Regions from separate parts of the Homo sapiens genome. Here regions 1, 2, 3, 4, 6 and 7 are each linked to region 5. Evidence: promoter capture Hi-C in 16 types of primary human blood cells and fetal thymus (Javierre and others, 2016). All regions are on one chromosome and are shown on one strand. The core of a region is centred on a gene start or on the middle of the fragment in contact, and the rest is flanking DNA. Distances in the headings are between cores, read along the strand shown. Region 1 overlaps BAIAP2 (BAR/IMD domain containing adaptor protein 2). Region 2 overlaps LOC124904077 (translation initiation factor IF-2-like). Region 3 overlaps RPTOR (regulatory associated protein of MTOR complex 1). Region 4 overlaps BAIAP2 (BAR/IMD domain containing adaptor protein 2). Region 5 holds the start of ENDOV (endonuclease V). Region 6 holds the start of CHMP6 (charged multivesicular body protein 6). Region 7 holds the start of CEP131 (centrosomal protein 131).

Region 1 (2,700 bases), core at 165-2,664, 620 kb after region 5:
GGTTTCACAGAGTCTGTGGCATACGGTTCTGGCCTTGTTGCTCTGTGGAAGCACATGTTGTCAAGGGAGGGAGGTTTATTAAATTATTAGTCATTAGCTCCATTACGACTTGTTTGTGATTGCAGAGGGTGGAAGAGAAGTACCAGCGGAACCTTTTTCCTATTTTTTCTCCTTCTGCGCTGAAACCAGAAAGCAGGAACTTTCGTGGTGAGAGTTGGCAGGGGGTGAGTACATGGAGTGGTTTTGCTCTGGGGGACCGACCCCGTGATCGTCCTTAATAAAACTCTCCTAACCGGGCAGTAGGCCTTCACCTAGGTGAAGCTGTAATTTATCTGCAGGTCTAAGTGAAATCTGCTGGCAGGAAAACTCTTAGGACTGAGTGTTTGGGGACTTTGAGCCCCTGTGGACGCAGACCAGCTGGTCTGGAGCACGTGAAACACACAGGTTCTGCGTTTTGTCTTCCACGGGTGGGTTAATTGGTGATTTTCCCAAGTGAAGATGTGGCGGTTGATGATTTGATTTAGCACGGCAGGACGCGGTGGGCCGCAGGTGTCTGAAGGGTCGATCCACTCTGGAAAGGCTTTGCCCTGGTGACAGGCTTGCGCTGCTGCTGCTGCACACAGGCGGGGTTGGTTTTGTAGGTAGGTGGCTCCTGCTGCCACTCCGGGAGCCTGACTGCTGAGTCTTTGAGACCTTTTTGTGCTTTGTCACTGGGGAGCTCAAGGTGCCTTGGTAGTGCCGGTACTGGTTGGGCAGCTTTTGGCAATGTCAGCCAGGCAGAAACTCAGCCCACATGGAGACATAGTCAGGAGACCGCTGAGGCCACCGGTGTGCACTCCTGGGCCGGTCCAGCCGGTCCAGGCAGTGCTGAGCTCTGTCCTCTCCTGGGACGGTGCTGCCTCTGGCATCCCTTCCCGGGGCCGCTCCTGTGCCTGGGTTGGCGGCTTGCAGAGCCCTGGCAGTGCCTCTTGGAACGGCTGTGCTGTGGCCTGCTTAGTGTCACCCGCGATGCGGCTCAGCTGTTTGGTTTGGTTTGGACATTGCATCGCCTTAACTGCAGTTCTGAGTGGTGTTTGCCTTGGCAAAGGAGGACGCTTGTCCTTGGCCTTGGTGATTAAAAATGCGAGAATAAAAAGTGCAGTTTTGATTTTCTTCCCCGTAAGAATCCGTAACGCAGACTTTGACCTCTTTTCTGGTGGCTCCATTCCCTTGGGAGCTGTGTCCTCGGGGAATTTCATGGAAGATGAAGGGGAGGGGAGTGGAACGGCTTCCCGGTGTTTGCCGAGAACATAATCTCAGACCTTCTGGGGGCACTGCGTGGGCTGGGCCCTGCAGGTGTTGGGAGGGCAAGGCGCGGAAGACCCCTTCCTCCACAGGAGCCCGGGCCCAGCGCTTGCTCAGGTTGCCCTGGGTAGTGGCCCAGATGGAGGGATGGAGTGCTGGAATCTGCCTCCCCCGGTGGCCTTTGGAATTAAGGCTACTGAAGCTGCAGCCCTCTTGGGGAAGCCCCGTGCATCCCTGTGTGCTGAGGGGCTGGCTCCCTGGCTGGCTGTGTCTCCTGGAATGCCAGGAGAATGTCAGGTGGGTGTTTTCCTCAAGGTCTCGTGTCCGCAGAGAAGCCCTGGCTCCCAGGTGACCCATGACCTGGAGTGTGGCGGCTCCACCACCTTCTCTGGGCATAGTGCCATTGGCCCACAGCCTGTCCTAGAATATGTGAGGTTGAGAGAGCATCTGGGGAGGAGGAGGAGTCCCTGTTGCAGACGTGGCCATGGCCTTCCTTGTGCCGAGGCTCTTGGCCCTGGCTGGTCACTCTAGCAGCTGGTGGGGAAGCCAGCCTGGCGGGGCCGCAGCCGTGCTTCGAGGAGACGGGTGCCACAGGGTTCCTGGAGCCAGGAGCCAGTTGGGTTTGCCGCCTCTGGTGTGATTGGTAAGGGCTGGCGCCAGGTGGTGGGCGTCATGTGCTGGGTGGCAGGGAGCACACTGCCGGCTTTTCTGCTCCGTGCCCGGCTGCCCGGGCCTGGCTGTTCCTCTCTGCCACATCCAGCTTCTTCCTGGGGTGTGCAGAGCTCACCATCCCCTCCATTTGGAGACGGTGGGGGGTGGTCTCTGACAGGCACCTCCTGCTGACAGGCACCTCCTGGCATTGGAGTCGCCTTCCTGGGTGGGGGGGGCAGCAGACCCGGCACCTGAGGAGGAGAGAAATCACAGTGCTGGACCCAGCTCCGTGCGCGTGTACATGTGTATGTGTGTCCGTGTGTGCACACGTGCATGCAGTGCTTTGTGTTTAAGGATACTTCCTGGGGTGGCCCCCATGGGCACCATCTTGCCGCAGGGTGGCTGGGTCTGCTGTCACTGAGTAGACCTGGCCTGCATTTTCTCTACATGTGCATGTCTGTGTTACCCGCCCTCGCCACCGCCAGCCTTTAGCAGGGGGCACGTCTCCCAGGAGCAGTGCTGATGTGGTCCCCTTGGTGGGGTGGCCAGGGCACAAAGACCGGCTGCCGTGTCATGCTGCCCTCTGGGCTGCCCAGCCTGTGTGGGCTTTGGCCCCAGGCACTGTCCTGCCGGTTGTTGGCTCCAGGGTGTACAACCCTTCTGCTGGTGCTTGCTCAGCGTCCCATGCCTGCTGGCTCCAGGTGGCGTCCAGCGTTCGCTTGGTGTCCCATGCCTGCTGTGCCGTTGGTGGCTGCATGAAGTCCG
Region 2 (2,700 bases), core at 85-2,584, 600 kb after region 5:
GCCGCTGTGCTTCCTGTACAGCCTGCTGAACCACGAACCAATAAGCCTTTCTTTATAAATGACCCCGTCTCAGGTATTTCTTTATAGCAGTGCAAGAATGACCTAATACAAAAAGACAATCAACAGGCCGGGAGTGATGGCTCATTCCTGTAATCCCAGCACTTTGGGAGGCTGAGGCAGGCAGATCACTTGAGGTCAGGAGTTCAAGACCAGCCTGGTCAACATGGTGAAACCCCATCTCTACTAAAAATACAAAAATTAGTCGGGCATGGTGGCGTGCACCTGTAATCCCAGCTACTCAGGAGGCTGAGGCAGGAGAATCACTTGAACCCAGGATGGGGAGGTTGCAGTGAGCCAAGATCACACCACTGCACTCTAGCCTGGGCAGCAGAGCCAGACTGCATCTCAGAACAAACAAGTAAAAGGATGGGGAAAATATATCACAGAAACCCTAATCAAAAGAAAGATGGAGTAGTTGTGTTAATATCAGGCAATGTATATTCAAAACAAATATCAACAGGGATAATGAGAGACATTACTCAATAATAAAAGAAGGCAAAACAATCCAAATTGTGTATTCACCTAACAATAGAATTTCAAAACACATGAAGCAAAAACTAACAGAAATGAAAGGTAAAACAATTTCTTACAGTTAGAGACTTTCACCCTCCTCTTTCAGTATTTTGTTGTTGTTTTTAGTCAGGGTCTTGCTCTGTCACCCACGCTGGAGTGCAGTGGCACAAACATGGCTCACTGAAGCTTCAACCTCCTGGGCTCAAGTGATCCTTCTGCCTCAGCCTCCCGAGCAGCTGGGACTATAGGTACATGCCACCACACCTAGCTAATTTTTTTTTTTTTTGAGACAGAGTCTCGCTCTGTCGCCCAGGCTGGAGTGCAGTGGCGTGATCTCGGCTCACTGCAAGCTCCACCTCCCGGGTTCACGCCATTCTCCTGCCTCAGCCTCCTGAGTAGCTGGGACTACAGGTGCCCGCCACCTCACCCGGCTAATTTTTGGTATTTTTAGTAGAGACATGGTTTCACCGTGTTAGCCAGGATGGTCTCGATCTCCTGACCTCGTGATCCGCCCGCCTCGGCCTCCCAAAGTGCTGGGATTACAGGCGTGGGCCACCGCACCCGGCCACTAATTTTTTTATTTTTGTAGAGACGGGCTCTTGTCATGTTACCCAGGCTGGTCTTGAACTCCTGGGTTCAAGTGAACCTCCTGCTTTGGCCTCCCAAAATGCTGCGATTACAGGCATAGTCTACTGTTCCTGGCCCCTCTTTCAGTAATTGAGAGAATAAATAGAAAATCATGAAGGATATAGGACACCTGAACACTGTTAACTGGTTTGACTCAGCTGACATTTATAGAACATTCCACCCAGCAACAGCAGAATACACATTCTATTCAAGTGCATATTGGACATTTACCAAGACATATCATGTTCTGGACCATGAAATAAACCTTAACTAATTTAAAGGAATTGAACTCACACAAAGCATGTTCTCTGACCATAATATCAATCCAAAAGCCAGTAACAAAGAGCTATCTGGAAAATCCACAAATATTAAATTAACCTGTGAGTTAAATAGAAAATCACAAGGGAATTTAGAGGCTGTTTCTAACTGAAAGAAAATGAAAACTAAACATATTAACATTTATGGATTCTTGCTAAAACAGTGTTTAGAGGAAAACTTAGAATATTAAATGCTTATGTTAAGGTAGAAGAAAAGTCTGAAATCAGTTAGCTAAACTTTCACCTTAATTAATTCAAAAAAGAAGAGCAGATCCAAAGCAAGCAGGAGAAAAGAAACAATAGTGAGTGGACATCAGCAGAAATGAAAACAGAACATCAGAGAAAAATCAGTGAAAGCAAAAACTGGTTATTTGAAAATATCAATAAATTTGAAAAGCTTCAAGCTAGAGTGATCAGGAAAAAAAGAGAAGATACAAATTACAACATTAGCAATGAAAGTGGGAACACCACCCCAGACCCTATAGACATGAAAAAGATATTAAGGAAATATTACAGCTGGGCACGGTGGCTCACGCCTGTGATCCTAGCACTTTGGGAGGTCGAGGCGGGTGGATCACAAGGTCAGGAGTTTGAGACCAGCCTGGCCAAAATAGTGAAATGCCATCTCTTCTAAAAATACAAAAAAAATAGCCGGGCATGGTGGCAGACACCTGTAATCCCACTTACTTGGGAGGCTGAGGCAGAAGAATCACTTGAACACAGGACGTGGAGATTGCAGTGAGCCACGATCACGCCATTGTACTCCAGCCCGGGTGACAGAGTGAGACTCCATCTCAAAAAAAAAAAAAAAAAGAAAGAAAGAAAAAAGTAAATATGAAATATTACAAACAGTTTTATGCTCATAAATTTGACAATTTAGATTTAATGGGAAAATTCCTTGAAAGACTCAAACTGCCAAAGTTCACTCAAGATTAAATAGGTAAACCAAATTGTCATATGTCTATTAAATGCTACCAAACATTTAAGGAAGACTTAATACCAATTCTACACAAACTCTTAAAGAAAATAGAAGAGGAGAGAACACTTTGCAATTCCTTTTATGAGTTCAACATTACCTTGACCCTAAGACCACATAAGGCCATTACAAGAAAAGCAAACAGACCAATATCCCATATGAACCTAGATGCAAAATCCTCAACTCATTATTAGCAAATAATCCAGC
Region 3 (2,700 bases), core at 95-2,594, 540 kb after region 5:
ACTTGGGAGTTCCAGCTTAGAACTGTCACCCCGGCCTGGACTTGGGAGTTCCAGCTTAGAATTGTCACCCCGGCCTGGACTTGGGAGTTCCAGCTTAGAACTGTCACCCCGGCCTGGACTTGGGAGTTCCAGCTTAGAATTGTCACCCCGGCCTGGACTTGGGAGTTCCAGCTTAGAACTGTCACCCCGGCCTGGACTTGGGAGTTCCAGCTTAGAATTGTCACCCCGGCCTGGACTTGGGAGTTCCAGCTTAGAACTGTCACCCCAGCCTGGACTTGGGAGTTCCAGCTCAGAATTGTCATCCCGGCCCGGACTTGGGAGTTCCAGCTCAGAATTGTCACCCCAGCCTGGACGTGGGGCACACCAGGGTCCCTAGCGGGAGCTCATATGAGGCATATGGACCCACCAGATGGGCTCGATGGTGGCAGGGGTACCTTGTAGCTGCTGGCCAAATTGCTGCCCAGAGCAGGCCCCAAAGCCTGCCCAAGGCAAGGGCCCATGGGGTGATGCCATGTCCCACTGTATCTCTCCAGGAGCTGGGATGGTGGTGGACTGGGAGCAGGAGACCGGCCTCCTCATGAGCTCAGGAGACGTGCGGATCGTCCGGATCTGGGACACAGACCGTGAGATGAAGGTGCAGGTAACCATGCAGGTGTCCCCCAAGCCCTGGGCCTGTGGGGCAGTGTGTGCAGGGCTGGTCCTCGTCACAGAACCCAGCAAAGTGTGCGGTGAGGCCTGGCCATCCCAGGGGTGGAGTCAGGGCCTGGGAGGACAGTGCCGGGACAATGCTGGGAGGAGACGTGGGCTCCCTGAGGCCTCTGGATGAAGGTGAACTGCAACACCCAGCCCTGCGCTGCAGTATGGCTCAGGCTGCGCCAGCTCTGAGTGTTTGCAAGTAGTGTCTTCTCTCTGCAAATTAAGGAATGTCAGAAATCAGTAGGGTGACCAATTGTAAATTAGAATGATTAATTATTTGGAGGCGTTTTTTTTTTTCTTTTGAGATGGGGTCTCACTCTGTCACCCTGCGTCACCCAGGCTGGAGTGCAGTCGTGCAATCACAGCTCACTGCAGCCTCAACCTCCTGGTCCAAGTGATCCTCCCACCTCACCCCCCCCCCCCACCACCAAGTAGCTGGGACTACAGGCATGCACCCACACGCCTGGCTAATTTTTTTAACTTTTTGTAGAAACAGGGGTCTCAGTATTTGCCCAAGCTGGTCTCGAATTCCTGGCTCCGGCAATCTTCCTGCCTTGGCCTCCCAAAGCACTGGGATTATAGGTGTGAGCCGCTACAGAAGACAGAAGATTTTTGTTTCTTTTTTTTTTTTTTTTTTTTTTTGAGACAGAGTCTTGCCTTGTCGCCCAGGCTGGAGTGCAGTGGCGCGATCTCGGCTCACTGCAAGCTCCGCCTCCTGGGTTCATGCCATTCTTCTGCCTCAGCCTCCCGAGTAGCTGGGACTACAAGCGCCCACCACCACGCCCAGCTAATTTTTTTTTTGTATTTTTAGTGGAGACGGCGTTTCACGTGTTAGCCAGAATGGTCTCTATCTCCTGACCTCGTGATCCGCCCACCTCAGCCTCCCAAAGTGCTGGGATTACAGGCGTGAGCCACTGCGCCCGGCCAGAAGCCTCTTTGCTTCTTAAAGCATCTGCTATTTTCAGTTTTGACAAAAAGCGGAGTACATTGGTTTTGCCCAAGACAGCCTGGAAAAGTGGTAGAGACCTAAGCAGGCCGCGCTCAGCAGAAATCTAACTGCATTGACTTCATTTGGAGCAGAGGCGAGACCACAGATACTGTGAGGGGCAGCGCCTGAGGTGGCTTTAGAGCCAGTATTCCCTTCCTCTGGGTCCCCAGGGAGAGGTGTGGCACAGAGGCCATACCCAGCCTCTCTCCCGGGCAGGCCATCTGGTGTCAGGAGGGATGGCTCAGCCCTGCTGCCGTAGAGGGCGGTGTGGAGCAGGCCCAGCAGAGGGGAGGCCTGGGCACCCTCAGCTGCTCGAAGCTGCTGTGGTTGCTCTGGGCAGCAGCAGCCCGAGAACCTGGCCCAGGCCTTCCCGTGTGGGCAGCCTCCCCTCTGACGTGACCGTGGATCCCTCGAGGCACCAGCAGCTTTCATGGCACCTTCTTTGGGGTGGGGGGGTCTTGCACCTGTCTGGAGCTGTGGCTCCACACGAGACGTAGCCCTCAGGGCACAGCGTGGACACCCTGATCCTCAGGGTCTGGTCACCAGTGGGGGCTTAGAGGCCCAGGTGGCCTGCGGGGCAGGTGCTGTTCCTGCAGAGGTGGGTGGAGGCACAGAGCGCAGCAGGTGCTCCCAGAGCCGGCTCTGCCCCTCGCAGGGGTCTGGCCCCATCATCCCCACGCCTGTGTTTCCTCCTGGAGTGCACAACCCAGCACCGCCCATCGTGCGTGGAAAGCGCTCTCCCTCTCGTGGCCCTTTTCCTCCTGCGTCCCTGGCAGGTGCCATCGCCCCCGCCCCCGCTTCTCCAGCACTTAGAGCCCCCGAGGGAGCCAGATGACCCCTCCTGGACTCGTCCCATAGCTCATTAGAAGTTCTGAGACGCAGCCAGTGAGGAGTCCTTGCCAAAATGTGCTTTGCTTTCCTTTTTAGGAAACAGAGAGAGGTTGGAAGTTTAATTGGCACTGACAGCCAGTCCTTCCCAGAGGCGTTTGCAGGCCTCCGCTCGGGGTGGGGCTGGC
Region 4 (2,700 bases), core at 100-2,599, 670 kb after region 5:
CTCCTGCACAGCCGGGACACCCGGTGTCTCGTGCCCATCCGCTCTAGCCCTGCCCTGCCTCCTGTTCCGGGTCCATGTGTTGGAGCTGACGGCTGATGTGTTTTCTCTCCATGTCCAGCTGAAGTCTTTTCACAACGAGCTGCTTACGCAGCTGGAGCAGAAGGTGGAGCTGGACTCCAGGTATCTGAGTGTAAGTGCACCCTGGCCGTGCCTGCTGGGCCCTGTGCCTGGGCTCCGGCTCTCCCAAATGCCTGCCACTCCTTCCTCGGCCTGAAGGCTTCCCACTTCCCCGAGCTCCCCGTCCACATGGGCCCCAGCTCTGACTTTATTGTCCATTTGGGACCGAGTGCCCCTGGTGTGCCCCAAATGCAACCTGTGGGTGAATCCGTTGCCTCTGACGCCCCACATGCCTGGTTCCATGCCCCGGCTTTGGCCACTTGCGGTGAAGCTGGTGCCTGACTCTGCTGCCGGGGAGTGCAGGAGCTCCTTCTCTGGCCTCTGCAGTTCCCTGGGCTCTCGGCCCGTCCTGCCCCACCGCCACTCCTGTCCGCTGGCAGGAAGGCTTGGGGCTGAGGCACTGCTTGAGGGTTTGAGGGTCACCTCTGGCTCTCAGTGGTGGGCGGGAGGGGTGGGCCTCGGCCACTTTTTCCAAGTGTGATTTTCATCTTGGGCGACCAGAGAGCTGCTATGGGGTTGGGTGGGGTCGGGCTGAGGCTTCATTTGGGCTCTCCCCAACTCTGATTTGCAGCTGAGCATGCACGGCCAGAGAGCGAGCCAGGAAGGGAGTGGCAGGGCTGGCAAGGGGACCCCGTTGCGTTGGGCTCATGGGCCTCGGTTTTGCTGCCAGTGGTCCGCGCTGCGTTGGGTTCATGGGCCTTGGTTTTGTGTTTTATTGTTTGAATCTCAGGCTGCGCTGAAGAAATACCAGACTGAGCAAAGGAGCAAAGGCGACGCCCTGGACAAGTGTCAGGCTGAGCTGAAGAAGCTTCGGAAGAAGAGCCAGGGCAGCAAGAATCCTCAGAAGTACTCGGACAAGGAGCTGCAGGTAGGCCCGCCACCCCCGCTGTGGTGCCTCTCCTGCCACCTTGGGACTGCTCACCCCTCGGCCCCCCTCGTCCACAGGGAGTGGACAGCAGCCCCCCAGGTGCGATCAGACAGAGGCAGGCTGTGTGTCCCTGGTAGACCTCGGGAGCGGTGGGCCTGACGCCCCCAGGCCGGTGGGATGGTCGGCTCACCTGTGGGGCTCTGTCCTGCTCTTGCAGCCTCCCAGGGTCACTGAAAGGTTCTTGGCTGAAGGAGCAGAAACCTAAATGGAGTCCTCCCCTCTGTTCTCCCCATCCCTGCCCGGGAGTCCGGTCCCAGTTTGTTCCTCTAAGCGGTCGTGGCCTCCGCCTGCAGGGCTGGCCACTCGAGGGAAGGTGGTACTTCAGGTTCCTCGAGGGAGCGGCTTCGGTGTTGTTTCTCTCACCGTCCCGCCGGCGTCACCGGTGCTGCGTGCTGAGTGGGCTGGGACGTAGGAAGGCCTGGCCGATGACAGGCACGGCCTGATGTGTGTACACCAGAACCTGGATGGTGGCTGACACAGGCCAGACCCAGAAACCCCTCGCCCACTTGCTGGGGTCATAGTGATACAGAAGAGAAAGAAACACAAAACAAGATGCCCAGTCGTGTGTAAAGGAAACATCAGGAAAACCCCTGGCCAGTCACCCAGGTAGAAGCTTCTGGGCTGCACCCTGGGGTGGGCAAGGTGTGGCTGTGGGTGAAGCCCGGGCCTCCAGGCCGCACCCTTCCTGCTGGCAGTCAGGTTTTCAAGCCTTGGCAAGCCCCGCACACACCTGCCCGTGTGCGTGTGTCTGCGTGTGTGTGTGCGACCGTCTCCTTGGTGCCGGATGTGGGTGCTCATGAGTGGCTGTGGCCTCGCCCTGGGACTGGGAGGCCGGTTCCTGCTCAGAGCCTGTGCCCCCGCTCCCTGCTTAACTGCAGGGAAGCCAAGCAGGTCTGCCCACACCCTGCAGACCAAGCCAGAAGATTTCCAGTGTGGGGTCGCCTGGTGGAGCTGGATCGGCCCCAAAGGAGAGGACGGGACTAGGCCAGGGGCAGATGAGAAGGATAAGTGAGAGTCTGTGGAAACAGCCATACGGGGGAGCTGGGGGTCCCTCGGGTGCCCGCTGCTGTTTGCAGCCTCCCACTCAGGCATGCTTGGTGCACAGTTGCAGGGACGCAACTCAGGCCGTTCTCTAGGGTGCCCTGCCCTCTCCAGCCACCTCTTCCCGTGTCCCCAGCCTTTGTTTTGATCCTGTTTTTCACTCCAGGTAAGCTGTGATGGGTCTTTTGATCCTTTCCGTTTTGCACTCCGGGTAAGCTGCCATCATGGGTCTTTCTATGATGGGCCCATCATGGTGGCCTTAGTATTCCTGCCTGAGGCTGCTGCAGCGAGCCGTCCTCAAGCTGTTTCTGTGAACAGAACCTGAGCAGTGGGCATGGGGAGTTGAGGAGGAGAAATAGGTATATGTTGGTAGACACTGTGTCTGTTTTTCTTCTTCCTCCCACCGTGGAACGTTTTGCTACTTTGCTTTCTGAAGACAAGCAGCGGACGGCACCCCTGCGGCCTGGAGGGCCATAGCCGCCTCCGAGCAGGTCAGGACAGTGCAGGTGTGAGCCAGCCCTGAGCACCGAGGCCAGGTGTGAGAGCTTGTCTTA
Region 5 (2,700 bases), core at 14-2,513:
GATCCCTCCTGCCCAGGCCTATGAGTACCCCAGCCTGTAATCGCTGGTGGGCTCTGGCATTAAGCTGGCCCCCGACAGGTGTTTGCAATACACCTGTGTTGCTGTAGAGCCGCCCGCGCGCCGGCAATCTCACTGTGCGTCATTCTTTAACCTTCACCTTCCCTTCAAAACCTAACACCCTTGACGTTTATATTCAGGCTATTATATATACATACACACATACACCCTTCTGAATCCTCCCAGGAGAATATAAAACCATGGGTTAAACTGCTACACTTCAGCTTCAGTGGCTGCCTTTCAGTGCTTCAAATACACCAACCTCTTTCCCACCCCGGGACCTGCACGAGAAAGCTGCTCCACTCACCCGCCGTGCTCTTTCACTCACCCTTCAGGTGTCTTCAATATCGCCTCTCAGGCCTTTCCCAACCACCGGTTTAAAGTCGGCTCCCCACAAATAAATACATATTCTCCCTCACAGTACTTCGCACAACACCTGGCACAGCGAGAGCACTGAACCAACACTCATTCAATGAGGAACACGAGGTAAGAACCAAGACCCCCCAAGGTCGCCGTACTTTGTCTGGTAGGAGAAGCTTTCTGCCCAGCAAGGTCCGACCCAGATGAAACCCCGTCCAAGTCTGCAGCACCCCCGTGAGTCCAGCCCGCTAAACTGTGAAGAATTTAAATACACGACACCTGCCCTCAAAAGCTTGAGGGCACCCCTGAGCTGCCATCGAGGTGGGGGCGTCAACGACAGGCGCTCAGTAAGTGCTCCTGAGGCAACTGCCGGGCTGTCCTGGACCTGGTGAATCCTTTCGGGGTTCAGCAAAGGCGGACGCTGACCGGGCCAAGGAGTGGGACCTGCAGTGCTGGACCACCCTTTTCCAAGCGCAGAAGTGCCGTGCCCGCCGGCTCTCAACAGGGCAAGAGGCCCCTCTCGCCGTGCAGAGCGCAGCGCTTGCGGCGGGGACAGCAGAGGCGGGACGGGCGTCACGGAGTTCCCGGGTCCTCGCGCGGTCACTTACCTGGCCTCAGCTATCCGCTGAAAAAGGGGCGGACGGCCTCCCGGGATCCGAGCCGATATCGCGCGCGGCGCCGCGGGGCAACCTGAAGCCGTGTGCGTGCGTGTGCGTTCACGCAGGGGCTCACCCAGCGGCCACGGGCTTCTGAAGACCCGGGTGGGAAGTGCGGCCCGGGAAAGCGCAAGCGTCTCCATGGCAACGAGGGCGGACGGCGTCAGAGCGAGTCGCTTCCGGAAGTGACGTGCGGAAGGGGTGCCCGGGACGAAGCCATGGCCCTGGAGGCGGCGGGAGGGCCGCCGGAGGAAACGCTGTCACTGTGGAAACGGTAATGCTGTCAGGCGACGCGCAGGAGGCGGGGGCCGAGGCCGGGCGGCCCTTCGCGGACCCTCCGAGCTCATAGTCTTCAGGCTGTGGAATCGGAGCTGCCACCGCCCGAGACTCCAAAGCAAAGCCCAGTTTCCGGCGCGGAAGCGGAGGGATCTCAGGAATTGTAGTCCGCGGGGTGGGCGCGGTTCTCGCTTCCGGCCAGTTTGTCTGGCCTGCGCTTGCGCGGGTCTCCGCCGCCTGGGCTCCTAGGGACTGTGGCCTCGGCGGTATGTCCCTTGCTTTCCCTTGAAGCGGGAGAAGACCCGGCAGAGGCGCTCTGTCCGCTGCAGCCGCGCGGGTGGAGGAGGCAGAGTCTGAGGTGTGACCCCGACCAAGTTTGACGCTTCTGTCCTCCTAGGGAGCAAGCTCGGCTGAAGGCCCACGTCGTAGACCGGGACACCGAGGCGTGGCAGCGAGACCCCGCCTTCTCGGGTCTGCAGAGGGTCGGGGGCGTTGACGTGTCCTTCGTGAAAGGGGACAGTGTCCGCGCTTGTGCTTCCCTGGTGGTGCTCAGCTTCCCTGAGCTCGAGGTAACCTGGGAGGACGCCGAGCTCGAGGCGGGCCCCTCGGTGGGCTCGGGCGTGCGGTCTCCGGGACAGGGAGCAGTGCAAGCGTAGAACCCGGCTTCTCGTTTTGTAGGATGTCATTAATAGTCTGGGGAGTTGGCCGGGCGCGGTGGCTCACGCCTGCAATCCCAGCACTTTGGGAGGCTGAGGCGGGGGAATCACCTGAGGTCGGGAGTTCGAGACCAGCCTGACCAACATGGAGAAACCCGGTCTCTACTAAAAATACAAAATTAGACGGGTGTGGTGGCATATACCTGTAATCCCAGCTACTCGGAAGGCTGAGGCGGGAGAATCGCTTGAACCCGGGAGGCGGAGGTTGCGGTGAGCCAACATCACGCCATTGCACTCCAGCCTCGGCAACAAGAGCGAAACTCCATCTCAAAAAAAAAAAAAAAAAAAAAAAGTCTGGGGAGTCTTGGAAGGGAAAAAAAGGCAAAAATTAAGGGAATTCTGTGACTATTAAGAATCAGCTCATGAGCTTTATCTTCAAGTCTGATTGTTATCTTGGGTTCTTCATCTCAGTGACCTGTCCACCACGCTCCCAGTTGCCCAAGCTGGAGATCTGCATCCTCCTGGGCCCCTCCGTTCCTCTCGCGTCCAGTTGCACACTAGCTCGCTTTTATTCTGCCTCTTAAATGTCGCTGGAATCTGTCCCCTTGTCTGTTTCCCCTCTGCTCCTTCCCTGGCTGTGCCACCATCACTCCTGTGGGTTCCTGAGCAGCATTTTCATGGGTGCCCTGGCTCAA
Region 6 (2,700 bases), core at 51-2,550, 580 kb after region 5:
GAGCAGGGAGTAGCAAGTCTTTTTTTTTTTTTTCCTCAACGTCCCCATGGACACCAAGGAAAAAAGTACTTCAGATGTCTTGGTGAGACAAATCAGAGGGTGGGAGATGAACCCCACAAAAATTCAGGGGCCCCCTCACCTCAGTGAAGGTTCTGGAGTCCAGAGGTTTGGAACAGGTGATAATTATTCTCCTTTTGATGTTATTTGTTATATTTTTTGTAGAGACGGGGGTCTTGCTATGTTGCCAGGCTGGTCTTGAACTCCTGGCCTCAAGCCATCCTCAGCTGAGTGCTTTTCTTTGACACTTAGTGAATGCTCAGGAACCACAGTCAGGATACTCAGGCGGGAACCGGGGTGGCTTCTCCCTTTTACCCTTTATCCCCATTCATGTGTTTCTTAGCCCCCCAGGGAAGAATGCTTCTGTGGGGGACGCAGCCACGATTCCTTGGAAGGAGAAGCTGAGCCCAGCCATGCTGGTCTCCTCCTGGCACTGATCTACAGACAGGGAGCAGCGCAGTGGAAGAGGGAAGATCCCAGGGCTGAAAGGCTGGGTGGAGGGCGCTGCTGGTCGCATTTCAGGGAACATTTTAAAGTGCAAAGCGGGCCGGGTGCGGCGGCTCACGCCTGTCATCCCAGCACTTTGGGAGCCCGAGGTGGGTGGATCAGAAGGTCAGGAGCTCAAGGCCAGCCTGGCCAATATGGTGAAACCCCGTCTCTACTAACAAACATTAGCCGGGTGTGGCAGCAGGCACCTGTAGTCCCAGCTACTCAGGAGGCTGAAGCAGGAAAATCACTTGAACCCGGGAGGCAGAGTTTGTAGTGAGCCGAGATAGCGCCCCTGCACTCCACCCTGGGCGACAGAGCAGGACTCCATCTAAAAAAAAAAAAAAAAAAAAAAGTGCAAAACGTTGGATATCACATCATTAATGCGGCATTTTGTGTTCAGAGCCAGTGGGACAGTGATTCCTGCACAAGATTCCTGAAAGCCTGGGGAGACTGAATTATGTTAATCTAAAAGGATCCCACCTAATTAGGAGATAAGAAATTTTTGCCTTCACCTGCACAGGAAGGGTGCACGGAAACACGTCATTTAGAACATCCCGGGCCCGAACATCGCGGGCCCTAACATCCAGGTATCCGTGCCACTTCTCCGTACCGGTCCAAGGAGGCCGCGGTGTTCGCGGCGGTCGCCGAGACCGGCGGGCTGTGGTTTCGAACCCGCGGCAACGGCGCGCGGCCGGAGGCGGCGCTCGGCCTTCGCGTTCCGCGGCGCCTGGCCCGGCGCGGCCGCCGTAGCGGGAGGACCCGAGCTACGGTGGCCGCGGGGCGGCGGTGGCGATTGGACTTGGTGGGTCCCGGGCCAGGGGCGGGCGCCGCCATGGGTAACCTGTTCGGCCGCAAGAAGCAGAGCCGCGTCACGGAGCAGGACAAGGCCATCCTGGTGAGGGCCCGGGCCCGGGGTCAGGGCTGGGGCCGGGACAGGCGACGGGGCCGGGGCGGGCGGCGGGGCCGGAAGAGCCCCGCGCCCTCGGCCCCCCGCGTTCGGATGGGGAAACTGAGGCGCAGCGCGCAGCCGGGCCCCTCGGTCTCTCCGCCCTGCGTCCCTCCTCGCCCGCGGGGCCTCGGGCCGGGGTCTCCTGCGCGGCGCCGTGGCTGCCGTCTTCCCCGGGGCCCGCGCGTCCGCCTCTGCGAGCCCCGCCGGGGTGGGCGCGGCTGGTGACTGCGGGATTCGACGCCGGCGTTCGGGGCTCGGCCACAGCCTGGCGGCCCGTCCGTGGGGTCCGCGCGGCGCTGGGCTTTCCCTGGCTCTGGGCCCGCGGGAGCAGGTCCCGGCTCTCCCGGAGTCGCTGCCCCCGCCCCCGTCCCGCGGCTCATTTGCCTCCTGGTGCCCTGGGCCGGAGCCCCGGCGGTGCTGCCGGCTTCGCGAGGCAGCGCGGGGCATCCCCTCTCCCTCACCCCATCCAGGCCAGGACTGGAAGGAAGTCTGCCCTGGTCCGAGGAGCGGCCGACAGGTGCGCCGAACGCCTGCCGGGGTCCTGCCGGGGTCCTGCCGGGCTTCCGCAGCGCCTGGGTACGGGACCACCGTGTTTGGCGCGTTTGTTTGCGGCGACTCCAGACTGACCCCCCGGGGCACAGCCGGGCCGGTGGTGGTGCCTTTTCCCATGTGAAAGTTAGCTTCTGTAGGAGGAGGAATCGCCTGGCATGTCAGGGACAGGGCGGGTTAAGAATAGTCCATTTTTGTAACGAGATAAACGTGTCACGAAAGAGACCCCGAAATGAAAGCAGGGCTAGCTTTTTCGGATGCTTTCTTTTCTAAATTTTGTGCAACAGAAATAGGTTAATTTTATACTAAAAGAGAAGCGAATGTAAATGAAAGAGGGAATCTTACGTTGGCATCTGAGTCCATAAGCTGTGAAAAGAAACAACGGGCACATTTGTCCCTAGAGAAGATGGGCACAGCGCTGGGCACCGTCCCGAGCTGCCTGCAAGACAGCTGGACCCAGCCTCCATCGTCCACCTTCCACCTACCCTGCCAGCCCCAAGGCACTCCCTCCCCTCTCTTTAAGGACTCAGCTCCGGTTTCTCTTCAAGCACAGCTTTCCACTTGCCAAGGGTCACTGTGGGCTCTCGGCTGTGCAGACCCGTGTTGCGGGCTGCCGTAGGTCTCCCTGGGATTTTGGGTGCTTGGGAACAGCATCC
Region 7 (2,700 bases), core at 100-2,599, 810 kb after region 5:
GGTCTCAGGACACTCCCTCCCTGCACTCAGAGGCCTTCCTTGAGCACCCATCACTCTTCACTCCCCATCCGGCTCGGACTCCCTTCCTGTGGCCGCACACAGTTGGTTTATGAATTGTGTGGCTCCTGAGCAACCCCAGCACCTGCAGGGAAAGGCACTCAGCTGAACCCGTAGATGAACGGGAGAAGCTGGCGCCAGGGACCAACCTCGAGAATTACCTCCCTGCCACGGTGGCCTCCAGTAGGCCAGCAGGCACCCAGCCTATCGCCCAAGGTCACCCTGGGCTTCCTTCAGCCCGGCACCCCACAGCAGGTCCCCCAAGGTCCCTTCCACGGAGCGATGGATACCCCTACTCCCTAGAGGCTGACCCTGCCACTGACCAGGTCCCAGTCCTCAGTTATGCACTTCCGGCTGTGCGGAAGAAACTTAACACCCTCCTCCTGCAGGGCACTGTCCACCCCTGGCTGGACCCATGCAAGCCCTTGGAGCCCAGGACTCTGCTCTCCCAGCCACACTTGCAAGCGGCTCTGGGATGGCGAACGGGGCCTCTCCATGGAAACCTCCAAGCCAGAAGAAGGGAGGCCTGGGAGGCCACTACATCTTGGATAAAACTGTGTCCCTCCCAGGACCTGAAGGGGCGGGGACTGATGACCAGCGCCAGGACCTGGTTCCCAGGGTGGGCTGACCCTGACCCTGACCCTGACCCTGGACAGAGAGGCCAGAGCCCACGCGCAGAGCAGAGCCCTCCACTTGTCCTCAGGGCAGCTCCCATCTCCCCATTTTCCCCAGGGCTTAAGGCAGCCGGGCCAGAGATGCCGGGACTGGACTCCATGTTGTCCTGGGGACCGGAGGGGAGTGGAGGGAGGTGGAGAGGGTGGAGGGGATGGAGGTGGGGACCCACACCCTCAGGCACGAGCCTGTCTTCACCTGCGCGGGCCCCGGACCTCCCTCACCTGTGCGCACCCTGGATCCCCCTCACTTCCCCCGGATCCCGCCTTCAATTGCGCGGGCACCAGATCCCCCCACTCACCTGTGCGTGCCCCGGATCCCCATCACTTCATCACTGGACCAGGGCCTCCCACCTGCGCGGGCTCCGGACCCCTCCAACCTCCGTGCGCCCTGCAACCCCCTCCCTTGCCCGGGCCCCCCTCACCTGCGCGGGCCGGGGGCGCAGCCGCGAAGCCTGCCTGGCGCGCGGGGCCTGCAGATTCGGCCGGCGGGGAGGGGATGCGGAACCAGTCGCGCCCAAACCTCGGGTCGGCGACCTGGCGCCCCGCCACCCCCAACACTGCCCCGAGGCCCGGTGACAATGAAGCGGCCGGACGGCCGGGGTGAGCAGCGGCGGCAGCTAGCAACCAGCCTGGCACCACCTCCCCAGCCCGTCACGCCGGCCCGCCTTTCCTGCGCGCGCCGACTCCGGATTGGCCCTTCACGCTCCCGCTCAGGCCGTCCCGGGAGCTCATTGGGCCGCTCGGCTGTCCTTCGGGAAGTTCAAGCGTGGGAGGAGCGGCGGATGGCTGAGGGACGCGACTACAGAGAGCGGCCGATTGGACGCGGCTGGAAAGGGGCGGGTCATATAGGGGGCGGGGGACCGAGGGCGGCGGGAGGAGCTGGCCGGGCAGGGGCGGGGCCCCAGCGGTTGTGGGCGGGGCGTGAGGTGGGGGTGTGATGGGCGAGTAGGGCGAGGCAGATGTGGGCGGGGCAAGGCAGGTGTGGGCGGGGCACGCAGGGCCTGGGGAGGAGACACCAGGGAGGGCGCGAGGAGCACGCGGCCTCGGCTCGGCTCCCCGACACCCCCAGGCCGCCGCACTCCCGCGGCCCGGGGCTCCCCCAGTGTCCTAGGCCGCTCTGTCCCCACCCACGTGCGCGACTCCCCTCGTTACTCAGTACGACTGCGAGGGCGTGTGGGCGCCTTGCTAACCTCCCTGACCTCCTTCCCTTCGCGCTGCTTTGTTGTTTTTTTTCCTTCTCCAAAGTTTTAACGCTGCGCCCCGTGCGTAGCCGCTCTGTGACTCCCCCTCTCTCCGGGAGCCCTGGGGATTCCGCCCAGGTCCTCTCCAGGGAAGCCATCCTTCCCCTAAAAGTCACAGCACACTGGTCTCCCCTGCCCCCGCTTTTTAAAAAGTCCAGTGCTCTGTAAAATAAAAAGTTTGGTTTCAGTAAAATCCACATTTTTTGGTGTGCAGTGGAGTTGTGTAACTTTAGTTACAGAACATTCTCCCTCCGGATCCCGTACCTGCTGACTGCTGGTGGCGGCTGCTCAGTTCTCTCTGTTCTCCATCCCTAGAGGCAGCCTTTTCCAGAATGTCACACAAAAGGGATGTCGCGCAGCGCGCCTGTGGGTCTGGCTTCTACCACTTCGCATTTTGAGATTCATGCTGGTTCCTCTTTATTGCTGAGTGGTATCCTGTAACCGGTGTGAACCACCGGTTCAGATGGTTTTATTTATTGATGGTTTTATTCATCAAATGAAGGACGCAGAGATTGTTCCTGGTGCTTGGCAATTATGAATGACGCTGCCATAAACATTCACTCATCGGCTTCTGTGTGGACACAACTTTTCATTTCTCTTGTGTAAATACCCAGGAGTGGGGTTGCTGGATCAAATGATTGTTTATAAGAAACTGCCGGCCGGGCGCAGTGGGTCCCACCTGTAATTCCAGAACTTTGGGACACTGAGGTGGGCGGATCACCTGAGGT

Evidence for each region. Contacts are between HindIII fragments. The CHiCAGO score rates a contact against its expected background, and 5 or more counts as called.
Region 1: a fragment that was not itself captured here is called in contact with the fragment with the promoter of ENDOV in region 5 in 8 of 17 cell types (naive CD4 T cells, non-activated CD4 T cells, naive B cells and 5 more); the score reaches 8.8 in naive CD4 T cells.
Region 2: a contact is called between a fragment that was not itself captured here and the fragment with the promoter of ENDOV in region 5, in 3 of 17 cell types (naive CD4 T cells, activated CD4 T cells and total CD8 T cells). The highest score is 7.3, in naive CD4 T cells.
Region 3: a contact is called between a fragment that was not itself captured here and the fragment with the promoter of ENDOV in region 5, in 15 of 17 cell types (endothelial precursors, total CD4 T cells, naive CD4 T cells and 12 more). The highest score is 18.6, in endothelial precursors.
Region 4: a fragment that was not itself captured here is called in contact with the fragment with the promoter of ENDOV in region 5 in 2 of 17 cell types (activated CD4 T cells and naive CD4 T cells); the score reaches 8.1 in activated CD4 T cells.
Region 6: a contact is called between the fragment with the promoter of CHMP6 here and the fragment with the promoter of ENDOV in region 5, in 17 of 17 cell types (naive CD4 T cells, naive CD8 T cells, endothelial precursors and 14 more). The highest score is 40.3, in naive CD4 T cells.
Region 7: a contact is called between the fragment with the promoter of CEP131 here and the fragment with the promoter of ENDOV in region 5, in 12 of 17 cell types (naive CD8 T cells, non-activated CD4 T cells, activated CD4 T cells and 9 more). The highest score is 18.3, in naive CD8 T cells.

What each region holds. Positions count from the first base shown.
Region 1 is chr17:81,036,738-81,039,437 of GRCh38, forward strand. The region is part of intron 1 of BAIAP2 (BAR/IMD domain containing adaptor protein 2); the gene reads left to right. Among named protein-coding and RNA genes, the nearest start is that of BAIAP2, 2.9 kb to the left of the region's middle. RefSeq lists enhancers at 277-829, 2,486-2,700. The HindIII fragment of the contact is 3,155 bases long and covers 1-2,700 here.
Region 2 is chr17:81,013,956-81,016,655 of GRCh38, forward strand. LOC124904077 (translation initiation factor IF-2-like) reads left to right here. Exons shown (of 1, transcript XM_047437254.1): 1 at 1-62. Among named protein-coding and RNA genes, the nearest start is that of BAIAP2-DT, 19 kb to the right of the region's middle. The HindIII fragment of the contact is 1,155 bases long and covers 758-1,912 here.
Region 3 is chr17:80,957,091-80,959,790 of GRCh38, forward strand. It overlaps RPTOR (regulatory associated protein of MTOR complex 1), which reads left to right. Exons shown (of 34, transcript NM_020761.3): 29 at 534-640. Among named protein-coding and RNA genes, the nearest start is that of CHMP6, 33 kb to the right of the region's middle. RefSeq lists an enhancer at 2,297-2,700. The HindIII fragment of the contact is 3,760 bases long and covers 1-2,700 here.
Region 4 is chr17:81,085,536-81,088,235 of GRCh38, forward strand. It overlaps BAIAP2 (BAR/IMD domain containing adaptor protein 2), which reads left to right. Exons shown (of 14, transcript NM_001144888.2): 5 at 119-190; 6 at 908-1,045. Among named protein-coding and RNA genes, the nearest start is that of MIR657, 38 kb to the right of the region's middle. The HindIII fragment of the contact is 733 bases long and covers 984-1,716 here.
Region 5 is chr17:80,413,904-80,416,603 of GRCh38, forward strand. It overlaps ENDOV (endonuclease V), which reads left to right and starts at 1,264. Exons shown (of 10, transcript NM_173627.5): 1 at 1,264-1,347; 2 at 1,747-1,918. The coding sequence starts at 1,292. RNF213-AS1 (RNF213 antisense RNA 1) reads right to left here and starts at 1,265. Exons shown (of 2, transcript NR_029376.1): 1 at 1,026-1,265. RefSeq lists an enhancer at 1,697-1,786. The HindIII fragment of the contact is 3,926 bases long and covers 708-2,700 here.
Region 6 is chr17:80,990,541-80,993,240 of GRCh38, forward strand. It overlaps CHMP6 (charged multivesicular body protein 6), which reads left to right and starts at 1,301. Exons shown (of 8, transcript NM_024591.5): 1 at 1,301-1,441. The coding sequence starts at 1,379. RefSeq lists silencers at 1,194-1,523, 1,654-1,803, 1,814-2,003. The HindIII fragment of the contact is 12,121 bases long and covers 1-2,700 here.
Region 7 is chr17:81,221,616-81,224,315 of GRCh38, forward strand. It overlaps CEP131 (centrosomal protein 131), which reads right to left and starts at 1,350. Exons shown (of 26, transcript NM_014984.4): 1 at 1,154-1,350. RefSeq lists enhancers at 1-381, 382-1,051, 1,052-1,721 and silencers at 1,083-1,412, 1,573-1,942. The HindIII fragment of the contact is 19,797 bases long and covers 1-2,700 here.